Regions from separate parts of the Homo sapiens genome. Here region 2 is linked to region 1. Evidence: promoter capture Hi-C in human tissues and cell types (Jung and others, 2019). All regions are on one chromosome and are shown on one strand. Each heading gives the region's core, a stretch centred on a gene start or on the middle of the fragment in contact. The rest is flanking DNA. Distances are from core to core; before and after follow the strand shown.

What was found. Contacts are between HindIII fragments. The study calls those that stand out against the background at their distance.
Region 2: a fragment that was not itself captured here is called in contact with the fragment with the promoter of CASP6 in region 1 in 1 of the 25 tissues and cell types used here (dorsolateral prefrontal cortex).

What each region holds. Positions count from the first base shown.
Region 1 is chr4:109,700,524-109,705,626 of GRCh38, forward strand. CASP6 (caspase 6) reads right to left here and starts at 2,922. Exons shown (of 7, transcript NM_001226.4): 1 at 2,833-2,922. The coding sequence starts at 2,872. RefSeq lists enhancers at 1,524-1,583, 2,344-2,403, 3,294-3,343 and silencers at 2,584-2,693, 2,844-3,133. The HindIII fragment of the contact is 8,740 bases long and covers 1-5,103 here.
Region 2 is chr4:107,999,949-108,005,507 of GRCh38, forward strand. All of the region lies in intron 1 of HADH (hydroxyacyl-CoA dehydrogenase), which reads left to right. Among named protein-coding and RNA genes, the nearest start is that of HADH, 13 kb to the left of the region's middle. The HindIII fragment of the contact is 3,066 bases long and covers 1,490-4,555 here.

The DNA of each region.
Region 1 (5,103 bases), core at 1,672-4,171:
CCCCATCTCTTAATACATTCAGTTTCAAAGTTAACAGATTTGGCAACCTCAGTGAGGGATTTTTTTTTTAAGTTTTTTGTTGTTGTTGTTGTTTGTTAATGCTACGGATGTAGAAAAAAACCTAGGCTCTGGACATCCCAATTCTGATGCTGGCCAGCTGTAACTTACCTTCACTCTCACAAAGTGCACCCTGCATCCTGCAGTACCAGTTAATGACCAGGTCCAGTGGCCACTCTAGCAAACACTGAATCAGAACAAAAAGCTATGGAGACAGATGCCAGGACCTAAGTTCCAATACTTTTCTGGAGTTGATAAACTTTACCCACAGATTGAGAGAAAATAACACATCATGACCACCTTGAGCTGTGTATCCCAAGAAGACAAGCTTTCCAGAAGGGGGCACTTAAGTATCATTATGCCGCATTAATATTTATTTTTTATTACTATCTTTTTGGGATGGAGTCTTGCTCTGTTGCCTAGGCTGGAGTGCAGTGGCGTGGTCTCGGCTCACCACAACCTCCGCCTCCGGGTTCAAGCGATTCTCCCGCCTCAGCCTCCTGAGTAGCTGGGATTACAGGCATGCGCCACCACACCCAGCTACTTTTTTTTTGTATTTTCAGTAGAGACAGGGTTTTGCTATGTTGTCCTGGCTGGTCTTGAACTCCTGGCCTCAAGTGATCCACCTGCCTCAGCCTCCTGGAAGTGCTGGGATTACAAGCATGAGCCACCACGCCCGGCCTGCGTTAATATTTAAAAACCTGGATAAAGTAAGAAATAGCTTTATTGATATGGAGAAAATAAATTTTAATGAAGGAGCTACCCTGTATAACAGATATAGAAATTCCTTTTCATCTGCAATCTACTTATCAAAAATGTGCCCTTCTTTAAACCTGATTCTTGACCTCTTTTCACTTTTTTTTTTTGAGACAGAGCCTCCCTCTGTCGCCCAGGCTGCAGTGCAGTGGCGCAATCTTGGCTCACTGCAAGTCCACCTCCAGGTTTCAAGCGATTCTCCTGCCTCAGTCTCCCCAGTAGCTGGGACTAGAGGCGCCCACCACTGTGTCTGGCCCTCTTTTCACTTCTCTTCCTTTGCAGGATAATGTAACTGCCACCTCCTTATTCCTTAAATCAGCTTAGGTTTTACAAAACTAATCATTCCTTTTTTCACCTCACTCTAATTTGATAGTCCCTCCAGATAATCCTGCCAGCTACCATTTGTTGATGGCCTGATGCCTTAGATACCTTATCTCACAGCTCCACAGCTCAGGAACAGGGACAGAGAAAGTGGGCCAGGCGTGCCAAGGTCGGCAAAGTGAAGCTGGGATTGAAAGCCAGCCCACCTACAGATTCCAAAGTCTCTGTAGGCCCATCCCCACGCAGCCCCTCCCACCCGAGACCGGCTACCTTTCTAAACTTTGTTCAACTTCCCAAACGACTTCGGTCATTCTACTGTCATCGTCTTCATTCACTGCACTCTCTATGAAAATCTACCCATCGGCTCCATCAACAATGTATTTAGTAACCCTATGTAGAGTAACCTCCATCAGGCCTAGAACATGCACTGGGGAGTGCGGTGGAGGAAGAAGAGGAAGGGAGCAGGTGAGTGAAGGAAAGCCCCGGCTTCCCGCCCCTAGAGACTGCAACTGGACCCTGCACTGTGCCTCCAGGACAAGGCTACCTATCTACCTCCTCTACGACCATGTGACTTTTACAGCTTGCCTCTGGAGCACCATTTCCTTTGTGCAGCAAAATATAAAGAGTTCTTAAACAAAGGCACTCTAACCAACTGCAGGCGTTTCGTTCTTTTTTTTTTTTTTTCTTCTTGATTCGAAGTCTCACTCTGTCGCCGAGGTTGGAGTGCAGTGGGGCGATCTCGGCTCACTGCAACCTCCACCTCCAGGGTTCAAACGATTCTCTTGTCTCAGCCTCCCCAGTAGCTTGCGCCCAGGCCTGGCTAATTTTTTTGTATTTTTAGTAGAGACGGGGTTTCACCGTGTTAGTTAGGCTGGTCGAGAACTCCCGACCTCTGGTGATCCGCCCGCCTCGGCCTCCCAAAGTGTTGGGATTACAAGGCGTGAGCCACCACGGCCGGCCAACTGCAGGCGTTTCGACCTTTTTGTTTGTTTCACTCTGGCCAGGCTTGAAGTTTCTAAACTTTACCAGTAATAAGTGACAGAACGTACGCTCTTAGCAGTTGATTACTTTGCAGAAAAAAGTTATTGTGGTTTTGGCTCAAACCGACAGACAGCAGCAGGTTTCCTGGATGAAGAAGAGAGATACCGGGGTGTGCTGGCCGCCAGGAACTGGCCGCCTCCAGCTGAAGCCCGGGAGGACCCAGGGTCTTGGCCCGGGCACCCCGCGGGCCTGTTATGTTTTCATTATGACTCGGCGGAACAACCCCTCCTTTTCACTTTTCGAAGTGAGCAAACAAAAGATCCAACCCCCAACATTTCAAACGGCCAGGTGTGGGGGAACGCCAGGCCCGCGTGGGGACAGCCTTTTAAGGTTTAAACAGCCGGGGCGCCCCGAAAGCGCTCATCGCCCCGGAGGACAAAGGCGGCAGGGGCACGCCCCGGCGCCGGCGTCGCTACTCGGGACCGCCAGGAGGCGGCAGCCAGGTCCCCGAGTGTTTCTTAGACTGAAGCGCGAAACCGTCCCCACCCGCCCTGAGCGCTTCAATCCAAGAGTGCAACTTCTCCAGGCCGCCCTGCAAAGCCGAAGGAACCCGCGGCCCCACTCCGGTCCGCGCGCCCGGTCCACTAACCCTCGTTTCCCCTCCAGCCGGAGCAAGACGCAGACCTGCTCGGTGCCCAGTCGACGCCCCCTGCCTACCTGCCGGGTGCCCCCTGCGGAGCCCCGAGGCCGAGCTCATTGCAGCCAAACGCGCAGCCAGACACCTTGCCCTCCTCTTCCTGAAGCCACAGGCTCCCGGGCCCGGCCCCGCCCTCGGCCCTTCCTCGGCGGCCCCGCCCCCTGCCCCCGAGCGTGGGGCCAGTTGGTTCTGATTGCGCGCCGCCCGGGCTCCCGTGGATCGGGCTGGTCCTTCCCAGAGTTAAAGCTCCTCCCAGTCGCTCCGGAGCCCGCGGGGACCAAGAGCGCGGGGGCAGGGAGAGGTACGCGGTCTTCGCCTCCAGGCCCGCTGGGACTAACCGTGCCCTGGGGACATGCCAGTTGCCACCCGGGGGGACACACAGACCGCCTAGCCCGAGGCAATTTCACATCACTTGTGTGAGCTCGGACTCATTTAATCCCAGCTGCCCCAAACATTTGCTATTCCTTACTTTGCTATGCCTGTACTTTCTAGAGGTACAGGCATAGATTGTTTTATACCGCTTAGCAGATACTGCCTGTATTTCAACATTGGCTCGCTTTGTGTCTCTGTGTCACATTTTGGTACTCTCGCAATATTTCAAAATTTTTCATTGTTATTATGTCTGCTGTTGTGATCTGTGATCAGTAATCTTTAATATTATTGCAATTGTTTTGGGGCACCATGAACCGCGCTCATAAAGGAAGGGGAAATTAATCCATAAGCCCTGTATGTGTTTGGACTGTTCCACCGAACTTTCCCTTCTCTCTCCCCCTCCTGGGGCCTCCCTATTCCTGGAAACACAATTTTGAAATTAGGCCAACTAATAATCCTACAAAGGCCTCTAAGTGTCCAAATGAAAGGAAGAGCCTGTCACTTTAAATCAAAAGCAAACATGATTAAGTTAGTGAGGAAGTAATGTTGGTAGGCAGAAAGCTAGGCTTCTTGCTCCAGTTAGCCAAGTTGTGAGTGCAAAGGAGAAAAGCCAAGTCATGAATGCAAAGGAAAAAATTTTGAAGGAAATTAAAAATGCTACTCCAGTAAACACACAAAAGACAATAAAGCTAAACAGCCTTATTGCTGATATGGAGAAAGTTCTAGTTGGTCTGGATAGAAGATAAAAACAGCCACAACATTCCCTTAAGCCAAAGCCTAATCCAGAGCAAGGCCCTAACTCTTCAATTCTATGGAGGCTGAGAGAGGTGAGGGAATTGCAAAAGAAAAGCTGGAAGCTAGCAGAGAGGATGGTTCCTGAGGTTTAAGGAAAGAAACTATCTTCATGACATAAAAGTGCAAGGTGAAGCAGCAGGTGCTAACGTAGAAGCTGCATCAGGTTATCCAGATCTAGCTAAAATCATTGATAAAGGCAGCTACACTAAACAACAATCTTTTGTTTTTGAGACAGTCTTGCTTTGTCACCAAGGCTGGAGTACAGTGGTGCGATCTTTTGCAACCTCTGCCTCCTGGGTTCAAACGATTCTTCTGCCTCAGCCTCCCAAGTAACTGGGATTACAGGATGTGCCACCATGTCCAGGTTAATTTTGTATTTTTAGTAGAGACAGAGTTTCACCATGTTTGGCCAGGCTGGTCTTGAACTCCTGACCTTGAGCAATCTGCCCGCCTCGGTCTCCCAAAGTGCTGGGATTACAGGTGTGAGCCACCGTGCCCAGCCAAAACAACAGATCTTAAATGTATATGAAACGGCCTTCTATTGGAAGAAGATTCCATCTAAGACTTTCATAGCTAGAGAGAAGTCAATGCCTGTCTTCAAAGCTTCAAAGAACAGGCTGATGCTCTTGTTAGGGGCTAATACAACTGATGACTTTAAAGCCAACATTCCTTTACCATTCTGAAAATCCTAGTGCCCTTAAGAATTATGCTAAATATGATCTATAAATGGACCAACAAAGGCTAGTTAGTGACAGCACATCTATTTACAGCATGGCTTAGAGAATATTTAAAGCCCACTGTTGAGCTCTAGTGCTCAGAAGAAAGGTTCCTTTCAAAATATTACTCCTCATTGACAATACACCTGGTCATCCAAGAGTTCTGATAGAGATGTACAGAGACTGATGCTGTTATCGTGCTTGCTAACACAACATCCATTCTGAAGCCCAGGGATCAAGGAGAAATTTTGACTTTCAAGTCTTATTTACAAAATACATTTCATAAGGCTATAGCTGTCATCATGATTCCTCTGATAGTTCTGAGCAAAGTAAATTGAAAATCTTCTGGAAAGGATTCATCATTCGAGATGCCATTAAGAACATTTGTGATTCATGGGAGGTCAAAAT
Region 2 (5,559 bases), core at 1,773-4,272, 1.7 Mb before region 1:
AAGGGACATTAAAAAAGCTTATGTTAAAAGATATATGTATACATTGTACTGCCTGTATGTTTGTGAAATTTGTATTTACTGGAAATTCTCATTGGCCTGTAGATAGGAGTGTTCCTAAGCACCCTATATTGGGATTTGTGGTAACAGCAGCTTGACAACCTGAAGTGGATGATGCAACAGCACTTTTGAAAGGTCTCTCCGTACTATCTTGATTTCATCATCTAAAGTTGGTGTTGGCAAAGAGAAGATAAGTGTTTAGGGTGTTGGATATCCCAGTTACCCTGATTTGATCATTACACATTTTAGGCAGGTATCAAAATGTCACATGTACCCCAAAAGTATGTACAGCTATTACATATCAGTTTTTTAAAGAAGAAAAGGTTGGTATGGTTAGCTTTTCTATTTCAAGTGTATCATTCATCTTTCACATCTGGGATTTCTCCTATGCTCTGGTTGGTTAATAACTTTTATTCTGAAATCGGTGAGATTCTTATGACATGAAATAGTCTATAACCAGTTAAGTTTTTATTTCTCTGTTCTGTTCACATCCTGGGGACTGGGCTGCCATTACATAACTGAGCAGCCATTGGTGGTTCACACCAGCGCCACACCCAGTTATTTTCTTTCAGTATTTGAATTCCTGCACAAAAGATCTGCTGTATCTGCAAATCACTAGAGGCACAAAAGAAGTGATTACCTCTACTAAGGGTTGGGAGAAGTTTCACTAAAGGAGAGATGGTGTCCATGTTAGATTATGAAGGGTAAGTTGAAGTCCATGAAGCAGCAATGAGGGAGCCGGACATGTATGGCAGAGGAAACCACATGAACAAGGGCACAGAGCCATGAGATAGCACAGAGGAGGGAGACGTGTGGTGTGGCTGGGGAAGACTACAGAATCGGGTTACTACCGTCCAAAGCATTTGTTATTTAGCAGTTATTGACCAGCTATCATATTCAAGGCATGTGATAAGTACTAAGGGCTACAAAGACCAAATCAATTTCTGCCATTAAGGGATTTTAAATCTAAGAGCAGAGATTAGACAGAGATCTAAATGACACAGTTTACTTTGGTGTAAAGTAGTACAATAAGAGCAGTAAAAATCTAGTTCTGAGGTTTCAAAATAGAAAGTACATTCATTTGGAAAAAGGCTTCATGGAGAGGGTAGCATTTGAAATGGGCCTGAATAATGGATAGAACATTTCTGGACAGCAGTTAATGGTTGGGATTAAGGAAAAAGTGTTGTCCAGAAAATGGTGACCTACAGAATAGTGGTACCAGTAATGAAGGCCAAGGAGAATTGATTTTAGGGTCAAGGTGATAACTGCAGCTTAGATAGATTATTTTGGTTTCAGGCACAGTTGGAAGTATGAGAACGATTGGAATTTCAGAAGGAAATTATATTGGAAACAGAACCTTGAAGGAAGTCCTTGTTTATAGGCTTAGAAGATCAAGAGAGGTCAATTAATATGGCTAAAAGGAACAGACAGATAAGAAACTGAAGAGTTTCAAAAATGAAACTTTTATTGGCAATGTACAGAGCTGTTGTAGAAGATGAAGCCAAAGAACAGGCATTGACTTTAGCAATTTAGTAGACCATTGATAAGTTACAGTAGTCCCCCCTTACGAGGGGAGGGAGTACATTCCTAGACCCTCAGTGGATGCGTGAAACTGCAGATAGTACCAAATCCTATACATACTATGTCTTTTTGATCTGATAACCCAGTCAACTACCAAGTGACTAATGGATTGGGTAGTATACAGTGTGGATATGCTGGACCAAGGGATGAGTCTCCTCCCAGACAGGACAATTCAAGATTGCATCACACTACTCAGAATGACATGCAATTTAAAACATGCATCATTTATTTCTATAATTTCCCATTTAATATTTTTGGACCATAGTTGACTGTTGGTAACTGAAACTACAGAAAGTAAAACCACAGATAAAGGGGGGACCAACTGTATCTAATTTCATGCAGCAGTGGTGGTGGAAGAAGCTACTCTGATAGGAATGTTTGTGTTCCCTCCAAAATTTATGTCGAAGCTGAATCCCCAGTGCAGCAGTATTAAGAGATAAGGCCTTTAGGAGGTGATTAGGTCATGAGGGTTCTGTATTCATGAACAGCTTAGTGCCATTTAAAGGGGCTTGAGAGACCAACTTTGCCTCTTCTCCCTTCTGCCATATGAGGACACAGTGCTCGTCCCCTCCAGAGCAGGGGTCCCCAACTTCTGGTCCGTGGCCCATTAGGAACCGGGCCACATAGAAGGATGTGAGCAGCTAGCAAGACTTCATTTGTATTTACAGCTGCTCCCCATCACTTGCATTGCTACCTGAGCTCTGCCTCCTGTTGGATCAAGAGTTGCATTAGATTCTCATAGGAGCATGAATCCTATTGTGAACTGTGCATGTGAGGGATCTAGGTTTCGTGTCCTTGTGAGAATCTAATGCCTGATGATCTGTCACTGTCTCCCATTATCCCCACATGGCACCATCTAGATGCAGCAGAACAAGCTCAGAGCTCCCACTAATTCTGTATTGTGGTGAGATGTATAATTATTTCATTATATATTACAATGTAATAATAATAGAAATAAAGTGCACAATCAATGTAATGCACTTGAATCATCCCTAAACCATCCCCTCTTCCCTGCAAGACGGTAGAAAAATTGTCTTCCGTGAAATTGTCTCCCATGTCTTCCTGGTGCCAAAAAAGGTTGGGGACCTTTGCTCCAGAGCATGCAGCAGCAAGGCACCATCTTGGAAGCAGAGAACAGCCCTCACCAGACACTGAACATGCTGATGATCTTGATCTCTGTTGTTTATACATTACCCAGTCTTTGGTATTTTGTTATAGCAGCACTAACAGACTGAAATAAGCCATATTACTAGAGTTTAGGAATTTAATGGCTCAGGAGAAAGTAGAAGCACCAAGTGTAGTGAATAAAATAGCAGCTAACAAGCTTTGTGCACCTTCACATGCCTGGCACTGGTCTAAGCATGTTAAACACATTAACTTCTTTAATCCTCACAACAGTTTTATGAGGTGGGTACCTTTGTTACTAACCTTTATGACAGATCAGGAAACCAAGACATAGAGGCTTCGTAGCTCACCCAAAGTCACACAGTGAGTGAGTGGCTAAATCAGTGTCTTAGTCTTTTTTTTTTTTTTTTTTTGCTGCTATTAACAGAATACCTGAGACTGGGTAATTTATAAAGAACAGAAATTTATTTTCTCATAGTTCTGGAGGCTGGGAAGTCCAAGATCAAGGTACCAGCTTTGGTGTCTGGTGCAGACCTACTCGTTGTGTCTTGCTGGGGGAAGAAGGCTGTCTGCACATGGCAGAAGGTGGAAGAAAGCTAGACGAACTTTCTCCGTCAAGTCCTTTTATAAAAACCTTTAATCCCATTCATGAGGGAGGAGCCCTCATGGCCTAATCTCCTCTTAAAGGCCGCACCTCTCAATACTATCATATTGGCAGTGCCTGACTTTTGAAGAGGACACATTCAAATCATAGCCAGGTTTTAAACCCAGGAACTCCAACTATAGGCTTGTTTCTCCACATATCACCATGCCACCAAGTAATTTAAAGACTTTGGTGGTAAAGCAAAGGCCAGCCTCAGGTGATTAAGGAGGATCCTTTTCTTCCTCCCTTTTTATATGGAGCAGGATCCCAGCCCGTTTGTAAAAAAATAGAAGGACACAGAAGGGAAAACTTGAAAATGAAAACTGAAAAACAAGTCATGAAATCAGAAGATGTGAGATCAAAAGCAAAATAAAATAGTTTACCTTAGAAGGCTGTGCCTGGATCCAACAATAGGCCTCAGACCCTTGCAGAAAGAAGAAGGGGGCAGCCCAGAATTAAAAAAAAAAAAAAACAAAAAAAAAACCCGCAAGCTATTGTGATGTGCCAGGCACCACTGCAGGTTTTTGACTTGTATTAACCCATTTAACCCTCCCAACAACCCTGTTGCCCCTGTTTTATAGATGAGGAGACAGCCTGCTGAGGTTAAGGAATGTTTTCCATCCCCAACTTGGCACACAGGCTCTGGAGTCTGGCCCTTGCCTGTCTCAGTACTGTTTCAGGCTGTTGCCCTCAGACCCCGCCATGCCTTCCAGGGTCAAGAAAGGCATGTGAGCAGGCAGCTTGAGCTCCCTGTCACGTGTAGACAGTGAGAATAATGTGCCTTCCCCAAAGGCAGTTATGAAGATCAGAGGAGATAATTTATGAAAAGTGCAAGCTCTCTTGAGAGTAGGGGATTTTGTTTGTTCACCTTACAAGGCAGGTGTTGAGTCAATAGGCTGCAGTCAGTGAAGGAATGAATGCAGTGGCATGCGCAGCGTGGTGGTCTAAGTGGTAGTTTTGGTCCATCCCTAGGGGAGCACAAGTCTTGGGCAGAGGATCAAAAGCACACACCTCTGAGAAGCCAAGTGTTTTTGTCTGTAACCTTTGATCATTCAAAAGGAAGCATTTTCTAACCTCTGCATTTTTTTACCCAAACTGTACAAAGGCTTCCTTGCTGTCCAAGTTGTGGTATACTCCAGTGCAGCTGCCTGGCTTCCAAGAGAAACTTAGCACTTCTTGTTCTGTTTGTAGCCTCAAATCAACATGTAACCAAAAGCTGTGAATGAATAATCCAAACTTGAAGAACCCCAGATTTTATTCAGGAGGAGTAACTGGAAGCCATAACCATGAACTTCCATATCTGTCATAGGAAAGAGGTTGGCCTCAGCAGCAATGAGGGATAATTCTTTCAAGAAAGGAATGAAGAGAGAAGTTAGATGGAAAAGAGATTTTTAAGGTCAAAAGAAGCAGCTGAAGAACATGTGTAGGACAGCCTTAGGAGTTACTACACTTCAAGACCTGGGTGTCTGCTGGAGGAAGGAACATGACCCTGCGGAGATGTTAAGGGTTGGGAGAGCTGAGCTTGGAGGCTGGAAGCCCAGCTGGGAGGCTATTGTTAAAGAGGTAAGATGACCCTAAACTAGTATTCAGGATGTTATGTGGTACTAAAAGGAATGTTAAACGAAGTGATAATACTGTATTCAGTTTAAATGTTTATTTTATACTGTAACTCACCATATATACCTTCTTTTTTTCTTTCTTTCTTTATTTTCTGTATTGGAAACTCCTAATCAAGATACCTTCTTTCTTAATATTTGATCTTATGGTTACCAAAAAGATTAAATCAAGCCATTGTTTTTCAAACTAGGGTCTTTGGGGATCTAAAACTTACATTAAACAATCTTAAAATTTGCCTTTTTTTGGATGATCCTAGAATTAATACAAGTGTATTCTGGATGATTTGAATGTTTCATCACTAACGAGATCTGAGATATCCATCCCCTTATGTGCATTTGTGTTCATATTATTATTTGTGCCAAGTGAAGCCACAGTGTCTCCTCCAAGGACATTTTGCCGTAAGTTGAAGAAAGAAAAATGGTGGGAGAATGGAGCAATTACAGGCACTTGATAATGTTGGTGTTAGGACTTCGAATGCTAAAGAATGGGGCCTCACAATGGTCAGTACAGTATTTATGTTGTAAATGTGTGTGTTG